Regions from separate parts of the Homo sapiens genome. Here all the other regions are linked to region 2. Evidence: promoter capture Hi-C in human tissues and cell types (Jung and others, 2019). All regions are on one chromosome and are shown on one strand. Each heading gives the region's core, a stretch centred on a gene start or on the middle of the fragment in contact. The rest is flanking DNA. Distances are from core to core; before and after follow the strand shown.

Region 1 (2,903 bases), core at 338-2,837, 300 kb before region 2:
TACACTGCTGGTGGGAGAGGACATTGGGACAAGTGCTTTGGGAAAGAAATTGACATTATAGTATCTTACAAAGTTTGCAAAGTGCATAGCGTAGAGACCAGTAATTTTACTCTTCAGCAGAAACTGTAGAGAAACCCTTCTACATGTGTACAGAATGTTAAAGCACACTAGCCAAAAAACAGAAAAACATCAGTGATTCTAAATAGAAGAAGGGTAGATCAGTTTGAATATATTCATGAGTAGAGTACTATACACCAGTGAAAATGCATGAATTAGAGCAAAATGTGTTTCCATGGTTAAAGCTTGCTATCACAGAGGGATGTATATGATATAATACCATTACTGTTAAGTCTAGGCCGGGCATGGTGGCTCATGCTTGTAATCCCAGTGCATTGAAAGGCTGAGGTGGCTGGATTGCTTGAGGCCAGGAGTTTTAGACCAGCGTGAGCAACACAGACCCCTGTTTCTACAAAAAAATAATTTTAAAGATTAGCCGGGCAGGCTGGGCGTGGTGTCTCATGCCTGTAATCCCAGCACTTGGGAGACTGAGGTGGGTGGATCACGAGGTCAGGAGTTCAAGACCAGCCTGGCCAAGATGGTGAAACCCCGTCTCTACTAAAAATACAAAAAAATTAGCCGGGCGTGATAGCAGGCGCCTGTAATCGTAGCTACTCAGGAGGCTGAGGCAGAGAATTGCTTGAGTCTGGGAGGCAGAGGTTGCAGTGAGCCAAGATTGTGCCACTGCATTCCAGCCTGGGCGACAGAGCGAGACTCCGTCAAAAATAAATAAATAAATAAATAAATAAATAAATAAGCCAGGTATGGTGGCTTATGCTTATATTCCCAGTTACTAGGGAGGCTGAGGCCAGGGGATTGTTTGCTTGAGCCCAGGAGTTTGAGGTTTCAGTGAGATGATTGCGCCACTGTGCTCCAGCCTAGGCAACAGAGTAAGACCCTGTCTCTAAGAAAAGAAAAAATTAAGTCTAAAGACCTGCAAGACAACGTTAGATACTGTTTTTTTTCCCATATGAATATACTCCTAGGCTGGGCGCAGTGGCTCACACCTGTAATCCCAGCACTTTGGGAGGCTGAGGCAGAAAGATCACTTGAGGCCAAGAGTTCGAGACCAGCCTGGCCAACGTGGCGAAACCCTGTCTATACTAAAAATACAAAAAATTAGCTGAGCATGGAGGTGAACTCCTGCAATCCCAGCTACTCGGGAGGCTGAGACACAAGAATTGCTTGAACCTGGGAGGTGGAGGTTGCAGTGAACTGAGATCGTGCCACTGCACTCAGCCTGGGTGACAGAGTGAGACTCTGCCTTTAAAATTAAAAAAAAAAAATTTATATATATATATATATTTATATATATATATATATTTATATATATATATATATATATATATTTATATATATATATATATATTTATATATATATATATATTCCTAAGGAAATGTATGACAGTGATAAATTCAAGATAGTGTTTACCTCTGAGGGAGAGTTTCTGTTAGGAAAGGGGTTTAAACATATCTTTTTGTTCAGCTGGATGGAGGGGTCACAGGGCTGTTTTTTTAATAAGATACTTTGTATGTTTGAACTGTTTAATTTTTTTTCTTTATTTTTGTAAGGAGGTTTTTTTGTTTCCATTTTTGTATTTTTGAGACAGTGTTTCTGTTGCCCAGGCTGGAGTGCAGTGGCAATGATCTCAGCTCACTGTGGTCTCTATCTCCTGGGCTCAAGCAATTCTCATGCCTCAGCCTCCCTAGTAGCTGGGACTACAGGCATGCACTACCATGCCCAGCTAATTTTTTTTTCTTGTAGAGACAGTGTTTCACCATATTGCCCAGGCTGGTCTTGAACTCCTGGGCTCAAGTGATCTGCCTGCCTCAGCCTCCCTAAGTGCTGGGATTACAGGTGTGAGCCACTGTGCTCAGCCGATAATTTTTTTCTTTTCTTTTTCTTTTTTTTTTGGGGGGCACTGTCTCTCTGTCACCTAGGGTGGAGTGCAGTGGTGCGATCTCAGCTCACTGCAACCTTTGTCTCCTGGGTTCAAGGGATTCTCCTGCCTCAGCCTCCTGAGTATCTGGGATTACAGGTGTCCACCACCACGCCTGGCAAATTTTTGTACTAATATTTTTTTAAAGGATCAAATGGCACCTAGCATGTACTCAGTAAGTATTTGAATAATTGGTTGGTTCTTTGTCTCTGGGTTGAGGTATTATTATTTGTTTCTTCCTCTCTAAGTGTTTATAAAGAAAAAGTATAAGGCCCGGCACGGTGGCTCACACCTGTAATCCCAGCACTTTTGGAGGCTGAGGCGGGTGGATCACCTGAGGTCAGAAGTTTGAGACCAGCCTGGCCAACATCATGGTGAAACCCTGTCTCTATTAAAAAAAAAAACAAAAACAAAATTAGCCAGGCATGGTGGTGCATGCTCTGTCTCAAAATAATAAAAAAAAAAAAGTATGAATCTATATGGCTTTTGGTGGCTAAATTTGACATTAAAGTCTGAGCTCACCCTTGAACATTGAGACAGAGTCTGTGCTCCATATATACACCCCATCTGCCACAACACTGCTAGAGGCACGCGCCTCAGACTCCTTTTCCCTCCGAGTGACTCAGCCATTCCCCCGTCTCTGTATAGGTCCCTGTCCTTCGAATGGTGGAAGGTGATACCATCTATGATTACTGCTGGTATTCTCTGATGTCCTCAGCCCAGCCAGACACCTCCTAGTAAGTAATGTTTGCCTCCCTGCTCGCCGCCCCACCACCCAGTTTCAAGCAGGGCCTCTTGGGAGAGTCAAGGGCTGCCAGGGGTCTTTGGAGGAGGAAGGCTTGGCATGCTTATCAGAGGGGCTGGTCAGTTGGCTTCCTCCCCTTCCTTTTTTTTTTTTTAGATTGA
Region 2 (3,002 bases), core at 115-2,614:
TTCCAACTCATGGCAATCTGGAGGGAGATACTTTCAGACCCTGCAAAAGTTCTGCTCCTCATCCAACATTTCCCCCAGCTTTAGAATCCACTGATGATTCTTACCTGATCCAATCTTTGCCACCAAGTCTGAAAATGATTCATTTAAAAGTTTTTAAGTTTTATTTTTCACATATAGGTCTTTGACCTGGAATAGATTTTGTGTATGGTGTGAGATAGGGATTGAATTCTATTTTCCCCCCAGATGGCTAATCAGCTCCATTTGTTGAAGTTTATTCTTTCCCAGTTGGTAAGAAATGTCCACGTCTTCACACATTTGCTGTGTTTGTTTCAGTACTGTATATTCTATTTCATTGGTCCATTTGTTTATCCTTGTGCCAAAACTATGAAGTCTTTATTGCCATAGCTTTATAATATATATTTATATAAATATATAATTGCTGTCACTACATAATGTGGATTTATATAAATATATAATATATAATTGCTATAGCTTTATAGTATATATTTATATAATTGCTGTTTTATATATCATATAATTATATAAATATATAATTGCTATGTTTTATATATTATATATTTATGTAGATATATAATTGCTATGTTTTATATATTATATATTTACATAAATACATAATTGCTATTGCTTTATAATAAATTTGTATATCTTATAGGGCATCTTCCATTATACTCTTCTCTAAAATTGTTAGCTATTCTTGCCATCCGGGCAATTATATTCATTTTCACAACAACCCTCAGATTAAGCAATTGCCCAAGGTCCAAAAATCAGCAAGAGGGACTTGGAACCCAGGTCTGTCGGAGGCCAAAGCTCTTTTCATTACTTCCTGAGGGTGGTTTTCTAGGCATGGAGAAGCAGAGGTCAGGGAATCAAGTGTGGCGAGAGAGAGAAGAGAAGTGAAAGAAGAAAGGCAGGTGTCAGCTTGGTGTGGGTTTGGTCTCTGGGATATAGACTTTGCCAGCCAAAGGATGGAGCTTGAACTTAGCTGGCAGAACTGGAAACAGAAGATTGTAAGGAAAGGGACTGGGATCAGTGTTTCTTCTCCAGGACGGATTACCCACAGCTGTCCACGGGCAGGCACTTGTTACTTTCTGGCTGAGCAGGGCAGTGTGGCCGACGGCTGAAAGGGGAAGCTGCGGCTGCTTTTGTGCAGGGGTGGTGGTGATGAGGGTGATGTGGGGGGCTGGAAGGCATGGAGGGGAAAGGATCTGGCTGACTACCTGGAAGCCAGGACAGATCCCACCCCAGAAAGGCGCAGTAGGGGCTCTCATCCTCCACTAGCCCGCCCCTCCCTACCTAATTAAGGACCCTAATCAGCTTGGGGAGATTAAGGGCTCTGGCCGGCTGTACCCACGCCCCCGCCCTGGCCTGGGCTGGCAAGGAAGACCTGTGGGCGGGCGTCAAAAGGGGGACCGGCCCTGTGACCCCTCACCGGGGGCCGTGGGCCCGAGCCCCCGGACTTCCCTGTAAATGTCAGAGGCCCCTCCGCTGGGATAGGGTCGGTCTGAGGGCGCAGGCGAGTCCCTGCTGACCCCTGACGCCTCCGACGGGGGGAGGGGCAGGCCGGGTGGGAGCGGGAAGCCGGGGCGGCAGAAGGGGGCTTCGGGGCGGTGTCCTTGGCCCCAGTTAGTCTTCCCAGCCTCCGGAGGGGGCGGTAGCAGCAGAATCATCCCATGGGTTACTCGGGCTTGGAGAAACTCGGGGTTACGGGGAGAACCCTAGGGGAGGCCGGGGTCTCAGTCGCTCAGCCTGCTCCGTCTGTGTTCGCAGAAGCCGGCAATGACCGCCTGCGCCCGCCGAGCGGGTGGGCTTCCGGACCCCGGGCTCTGCGGTCCCGCGTGGTGGGCTCCGTCCCTGCCCCGCCTCCCCCGGGCCCTGCCCCGGCTCCCGCTCCTGCTGCTCCTGCTTCTGCTGCAGCCCCCCGCCCTCTCCGCCGTGTTCACGGTGGGGGTCCTGGGCCCCTGGGCTTGCGACCCCATCTTCTCTCGGGCTCGCCCGGACCTGGCCGCCCGCCTGGCCGCCGCCCGCCTGAACCGCGACCCCGGCCTGGCAGGCGGTCCCCGCTTCGAGGTAGCGCTGCTGCCCGAGCCTTGCCGGACGCCGGGCTCGCTGGGGGCCGTGTCCTCCGCGCTGGCCCGCGTGTCGGGCCTCGTGGGTCCGGTGAACCCTGCGGCCTGCCGGCCAGCCGAGCTGCTCGCCGAAGAAGCCGGGATCGCGCTGGTGCCCTGGGGCTGCCCCTGGACGCAGGCGGAGGGCACCACGGCCCCTGCCGTGACCCCCGCCGCGGATGCCCTCTACGCCCTGCTTCGCGCATTCGGCTGGGCGCGCGTGGCCCTGGTCACCGCCCCCCAGGACCTGTGGGTGGAGGCGGGACGCTCACTGTCCACGGCACTCAGGGCCCGGGGCCTGCCTGTCGCCTCCGTGACTTCCATGGAGCCCTTGGACCTGTCTGGAGCCCGGGAGGCCCTGAGGAAGGTTCGGGACGGGCCCAGGGTCACAGGTAGGCTCCCTTGCAGGGTGCGAGGAGGTCGGCTGGTCCTGCCGGCAGCCGGACGGCGCCGCGAGCCAAGCCTCTGTCCGCAGCAGTGATCATGGTGATGCACTCGGTGCTGCTGGGTGGCGAGGAGCAGCGCTACCTCCTGGAGGCCGCAGAGGAGCTGGGCCTGACCGATGGCTCCCTGGTCTTCCTGCCCTTCGACACGATCCACTACGCCTTGTCCCCAGGCCCGGAGGCCTTGGCCGCACTCGCCAACAGCTCCCAGCTTCGCAGGGCCCACGATGCCGTGCTCACCCTCACGCGCCACTGTCCCTCTGAAGGCAGCGTGCTGGACAGCCTGCGCAGGGCTCAAGAGCGCCGCGAGCTGCCCTCTGACCTCAATCTGCAGCAGGTAGACGGTCCCGGGAGGAGGGAAGAAGGCAAGGGAGAGGGGAGAGGACAGCCAAAGCAGGGAGAGGAGGATGCAGCCAATGGAGAAAGAACCACT
Region 3 (2,843 bases), core at 1-2,500, 320 kb after region 2:
CCCCTACCTTCCGCCTCTCCCTTCTCAGCAACCACCAGGGCCGCCCCACCCACCGACTACTCCAAGCTTCTTCCCTGTGAGTTGTGTTTCCCTCAGAAAACAACCTTGGGACACTTATCTGACCTCTCAGACCTCCCCCACTTCCCCAGTCTCTCTCTTCTGTGGCTCCTGCCTCAGCCCCAGAGGATCTTTTGGGCCAACTGTGACACTTCCCAATATCCCCACCAGATCAGACATGCAGCGCTGGCTGGGAGCCTTCCCAACCCCAGGCCCCCTTCCCTGCTCCCCAGACACCATCTATGAGGACTGTGGTGAGTATCCCCCTAGAGGGGATGAGGGAAGAAAAAGCGAGTCTTAGAGGAATATGGGGGAGAAGCTAAACAGAATCACTTTAATGTCACCCACCCCCAACCAGACTGTTCCCAGGAACTGTGTTCAGAGTCGTCTGCACCTGCCAAGACTGAAGGACGGAGTCTGGAGTCCAGGGCTGCCCCCAAACACCTGCACAAGACCCCTGAAGGTGAGAAAGTCTTTCATTTATTTATTTTGTATTTATTATTATTATTTTTTGAGACAGAGTCTCATTCTGTCAGCCAGGCTAGAGTGCAGTGGTGTGAGCTCGGCTCACTGCAACCTCTGCCTCCTGGGTTCAAGGGATTCTCCTGCCTCAACCTCCCAAGTAGCTGAGATTACAGGTGCCCACCACCACGTCTGGCTAATTTTTGTATTTTTAGTAGAGATGGGGTTTCACCATGTTGGCCAGGCTGGTCTCGAACTAACCTCAGGTGATCCGTCCCCTTTCACCTCCCAAAGTGCTGGGATTACAGGCATGAGCCTCTGGTGCCAGGCCTTATTTCTATTCTTTTTTTTTTTTAATGGAGGTGGGGGGTCTCACTATGTTGCTCAGGCTGGTCTTGAACTCCCGAGCTCAAGTGATCCTCCTGCCTCAGGCTCCCAAAGTGCTGGGATTACAGGCGTGAGCCACTGCGCCTGGCCGTGTTTCATTTATTCATTCAATAAATATTTATTAAGCACCTACAAAGTGCCACTCGCTGTTCTAGGGACTGTGAATCAAATATATCACACTTCCTTCCTTGCTGGAGCTACGTTCTAGCAGAGGAGGCAGACGATAAAGAATGAGCAAAATAGATAAGTAAATTATAAAGTACATGTGAAGGTTATGAGTGTTATGGAAAAAAAAAAAAGTGAGCAGAGCAAAGAAGGTCAGGAGTTCCAGGGTTGGGCAGACTGAAATTTTCAATAGGGAGGCCGAGGTGGACCTCACTGAGAAGGCAACATGAAGCTTGATGGAGCTAATTTAGGCCCATGGTGTCTGGGGGAAGAGTGTCCCAGCTGGAGGCAGCAGGCAGTGCAAAGGCCCTGCGGCTGGTGTGTGACTGAGGAACTGTAAGGAGGCCAGTGTGACTAGCAGGAGAGAGAAAGGGGGAGAAGCAAATGAGGTCATAGAAGTGGCAGGGATGGGATCACGCAGGACCTGACAGGTCTCTGCAAGGACTCCACCTCTTACTCCAAGAGACATGAGCAGCCACTGCAGGGCTTGACGGAAGAGCAGCCCAGACTCTCTCCGAGCTGCTGTCACCTCCACTTCTGATGCCCTTTCTACCGATGCTCCAGGCTTGTCCATGAATTCCCACACCTACAATGACCCTGAAGGCCTGAGACCCCACGAGGCCCCCTTTGCCTCCTCACCTGCTCCCTGCCCCCACCTCATTGGAGCCTCTGTCTCTCTTCCCCCAGGTTGGCTGAAGGGGCTTCCTGGGGCCTTCCCTGCCCAGCTGGTGTGTGAAGTCACAGGGGAACACGAAAGGAGGAGGCACCTTCGCCAGAACCAGAGGCTTCTCGAGGCTGTTGGATCTTCTTCAGGCACCCCCAATGCCCCCCCACCCTAATGCAGGCTGAGGAGGGGGCACATGTTGGGAGACACCTACCAGTGTGGCACGGAGAGAACAAAGCCCATTCATCCATTGGATTCACTGTCAGTGGAGATACTACCTCTCGTGGCAACCATAGAGATCGAGCTTCAGGACAGAGCAGCCAATGAAAACGGCCGCCTGAACCCACAGCAATAAGAATGAATGAGGATGCCTTGAATGTGTGGCCAATGGAGACAGAGGCTTAGTGCAGAGCAGCCAATGGGTACTGAGCTGGCTGAGCCTATGGCCAATGAGTATTCCTGCTATGCTCAGGGCCAAGGAAGACAAATCTAGGTCATGGCAGTTGAAAAAGGGCCTCATTGGAGATAAAGTCGTAGGATAAAATTGGGAACAGGAATGAGCAGGAAGCCAATCAGCCAAAGAAAATGGTGATCTGGACCCAAGAGACCAGTAGTCACCCTGCTTGTTTCTGCAGCAATGACTGGTCCTGTCTTTTGAGTCTGGGAAATACTAGTTTCCATTCCTGGATGCTTCCTGTGCCCTCTCAAGCCAGTTCTTCTCTTCCAGAAGAATTCAGAGTATGTGTCTCAGAAAATCTGTGTGTGTACATGTGCATGTGTAGATATGTGTGTATATGTATCAGGAAAGGCATTCTGCTGACTGTGGTGTGTGTGTGGTGATTGTGCTCCTGACCCACAAATGACTGAGTGCTCCATTTCTTCCTTTACCCCCCATTTTTCCTATTATTCGCTCCAAGAAAGATGCTAAGTCTGAGCTCCAGAAGAGACTGTGCTGGGTGTGGCTTGGCACCCAGGGGATGAGAGCCCTGAGCTTTGGGTCTCTTGGAGGCTAGGGTTCTGTGGCAGTTGCAGGGCAATGTTATGGAGCAGCCAACGGCCTGGCAGAGGAGCCCAAGGGACTGAAGATGGCCAGTAGCTGGGTCCTGAG
Region 4 (2,819 bases), core at 180-2,679, 320 kb before region 2:
TTTTTAGTAGAGACAGGGCTTTGCATGTTGGCCAGGCTGGTCTCGAACTCCTTACTTCAGGTGATCGGCCCGCCTCAGCCTCCTAAAGTGCCAAGATTACAGGTGTGAGCTACCGTGCCCTGCTCCCACCTCCTGTTAACAAGGATATAGTCATTCTCAGCCTGCAATCTCTGTATGGGGAAGGACACCCCCTTGGCCCCCACCCTTCCCCACCTGATACACGGCTCCATTTCTTTGATTCCTTTCACTGCAAAGCTTCTGGAAGAACAACTGTCTCACCGCTCACCTGCCCATTCTCTTCGGACACTCCTCAGCCCTGCATTACAAACCCCTCACGAATGGCCCGTCTCGGCTTCTTTAATCTCATCTCTTAACAACCACTCCCTCTTCCCCAAAAGCTCTAGCTAGACTGGCTGCCCTTCTCTGCTAATCAACTGGTGGTTCCTTGGCTAGCCAGGAACATGGGGGTAGGCTCCTTCCCGTGCAGACTTTAAGTCATCCTATTTTAATTCACATCACCTCATTTGCATTCTCATAGCACTTACATTGTCTGATACTTTTCCTTGTTTATTTTATCTGTTTCCTCTAATAGCATATACACTTCCTAAGGGCAGGGCAGTGATCTATCTTGTTGTCTTGCTGACCAAAGTATTAGATCACAATGCCTTGCACCTGCTTGGGCTCAATAAATGTGAATAACACACAAGCCTGTTATATGAGAGGTTAAGAGAGCGAGAAAGAGCAAGGGGCAGCCCCTGTGTGGACCAGCATCTTGCACGAAGTTATGCAACTATCATCGCACCTTCTCCCAGACAAGCTTTCAAAGGCTTTGCCATGTTTTCTTTTGTTTTGTTTTTTTGTTTGTTTTTTGAGATGGAGTTTGGCTCTTTTCGCCCAGGCTGGAGTGCAGTGGTGCAGTCTAGGCTCACTGCAACCTCTGCCTTCTGGTTTCAAGCAATTCTCCTGCCTCAGCCTCCCGAGTAGCTGGGATTACAGGCCCCTGCCACCATGCCTGGCTGATTTTTTGTATTTTTAGTAGAGACAGGGTTTCACCATGTTGGCCAGGCTGGTGTGGAACTCCTGACCTTGTGATCCACCTGCCTCGGCCTCTCAAAGCGCTGGGATTACAGGTGTGAGCCACTGTGCCTGGCCCGCCATGTTCTTTCTTTCTTTCTTTTTTCTTTTGAGGCAGGGTCTTGCTTTGTTGCCCAAGCTAGGGTACAGTGGTGCAATCATGGCTCACTACAGCCTCGGACTCCTGGGCTCAGTGATTCTCCTGCCTCAGCCTCCCAAGTAGCTGGGACCACAGAGGCCTGCCTGGCTAATTTTTTAGTCTTTTTCTTTTTCTTTTTTTTTTTGGAGACGGAGTCTCGCCCTGTCACCCAGGCTAGAGTGCAGTGGTGTGATCTCGACTCACTGTAACCTCCACCTCCCAGATTCAAGCGATCCTCTTGCCTCAACTTCCTGAGTAGCTGGGATTACAGGCGCCCACCAATGCGCCTGATTAATTTTTTGTATTTTTAGTAGAGATGGGGTTTTGCCATGTTGGCCAGGCTGGTTTCGAACTCCTGACCTCAGGTGATCCTCCCGCCTCCGACTCCCAAAGTGCTGGGATTACAGGTGTGAGCCACTGCACCCGGCCAATTTTTGAGTTTTTTTGTAGAGGCAGGGTTTCACTATGTTGCCCAGGCAGGATGCTCTCTTTCTTTTTCTTTTTTTTTTTTTCAGGGATGCTCTCTTTCTTTATGCCAAATTTGTCATCAGATTTGCTAAGAAACATGCCTACTGTAAGTGTTTGTTACACTTTTCTGTTTTTTTTTTTTTTTGAGACAGAGTTTTGCTCTCGTCCAGGCTGGAGTGCAATGGTGCGATCTCGGCTCACCGCAACCTCTGCCTCCCAGGTTCAAGCGATTCTCCTGCCTCAGCCTCCCGAGTAGCTGGGATTACAGGCATGCGCCACTGCGCCCGGCTAATTTTGTATTTTTAGTAGAGACGGGGTTTCTCCATATTGGTCAGGCTGGTCTTGAACTCCCAACTTCAGGTGATCCGCCCGCCTTGGCCTCCCAAAGTGCTGGGATTACAGGCATGAACCACTGTGCCCAGCCCACTTTTCTGTTGTTTGCACTGACAAAACATCCCCTACCAAACAGCTCCTTTAATGGCAGGCTCTTTTCTTTTTTTATTTTATTTTATTTTATTTTATTTTATTTTATTTTATTTTGAGACGGAGTCTCAGCTCTTATTGCCCAGGCTGGAGTACAGTGGCACTATCTCCGCTTACTGCAACCTCCTCCCGGATTCAAATGATTCTCCTGCCTCAGCCTGCTGAGTAGCTAGGACTACAAGCATGTGCCACCACACCTGGCTAATTTTGTACTTCTAGTAGAGACGGGGTTTCACCATGTTGGTCAGGCTGGTCTTGAACTCCCGACCTCAGGTGATCCACCCCCCTTGGCCTCCTAAAGTGCTGGGATTACAGGCGTGAGCCACCAAGCCTGGCCTACCTAGTACTCTGTGTATTATGGGAAATGTAGAGTTGAGGAAAGTGCTGGGCACACAGTAAGAGCTCAACAAAGGTTAGCTCTTTCTGCAATTGTTCTATTTCACTTGTTCTATATTATTATTCTAGAGAGAACTGTGTGATTGTTAGTGCGGATCTGTGGTACTGCTCCCACCCCCACTCCATTAATGCAAGTACACCTCCTTCAGGGATCTATTCAGTCAACAGGCCAGGAGGTGCTGTCCTGAAATGGGGGGCCCAAAGTCTCAATCCCACTTGGAGGGACACAGGTCTACAGACAGGTCTCCCTGTCTTTATC

The links. The method cuts DNA at HindIII sites, captures the fragments that hold promoters and counts their contacts. A contact is called where the count stands out against the background at its distance.
Region 1: a contact is called between a fragment that was not itself captured here and the fragment with the promoter of GUCY2D in region 2, in 1 of the 25 tissues and cell types used here (lymphoblastoid cells).
Region 3: a contact is called between a fragment that was not itself captured here and the fragment with the promoter of GUCY2D in region 2, in 4 of the 25 tissues and cell types used here (IMR-90 fibroblasts, lymphoblastoid cells, mesenchymal stem cells and 1 more).
Region 4: a fragment that was not itself captured here is called in contact with the fragment with the promoter of GUCY2D in region 2 in 1 of the 25 tissues and cell types used here (lymphoblastoid cells).

What each region holds. Positions count from the first base shown.
Region 1 is chr17:7,698,096-7,700,998 of GRCh38, forward strand. It overlaps WRAP53 (WD repeat containing antisense to TP53), which reads left to right. Exons shown (of 11, transcript NM_001143992.2): 5 at 2,646-2,734. Among named protein-coding and RNA genes, the nearest start is that of EFNB3, 5.7 kb to the right of the region's middle. The HindIII fragment of the contact is 6,031 bases long and covers 1-2,903 here.
Region 2 is chr17:8,001,251-8,004,252 of GRCh38, forward strand. GUCY2D (guanylate cyclase 2D, retinal) reads left to right here and starts at 1,365. Exons shown (of 20, transcript NM_000180.4): 1 at 1,365-1,484; 2 at 1,789-2,518; 3 at 2,602-2,906. The coding sequence starts at 1,798. The HindIII fragment of the contact is 18,418 bases long and covers 1-3,002 here.
Region 3 is chr17:8,319,084-8,321,926 of GRCh38, forward strand. It overlaps ARHGEF15 (Rho guanine nucleotide exchange factor 15), which reads left to right. Exons shown (of 16, transcript NM_173728.4): 13 at 1-76; 14 at 229-311; 15 at 416-520; 16 at 1,759-2,843. The coding sequence ends at 1,910. Among named protein-coding and RNA genes, the nearest start is that of ARHGEF15, 10 kb to the left of the region's middle. The HindIII fragment of the contact is 6,503 bases long and covers 1-2,843 here.
Region 4 is chr17:7,677,112-7,679,930 of GRCh38, forward strand. All of the region lies in intron 1 of TP53 (tumor protein p53), which reads right to left. Among named protein-coding and RNA genes, the nearest start is that of TP53, 9.0 kb to the right of the region's middle. RefSeq lists enhancers at 1-469, 470-1,081, 1,082-1,692. The HindIII fragment of the contact is 5,026 bases long and covers 1-2,819 here.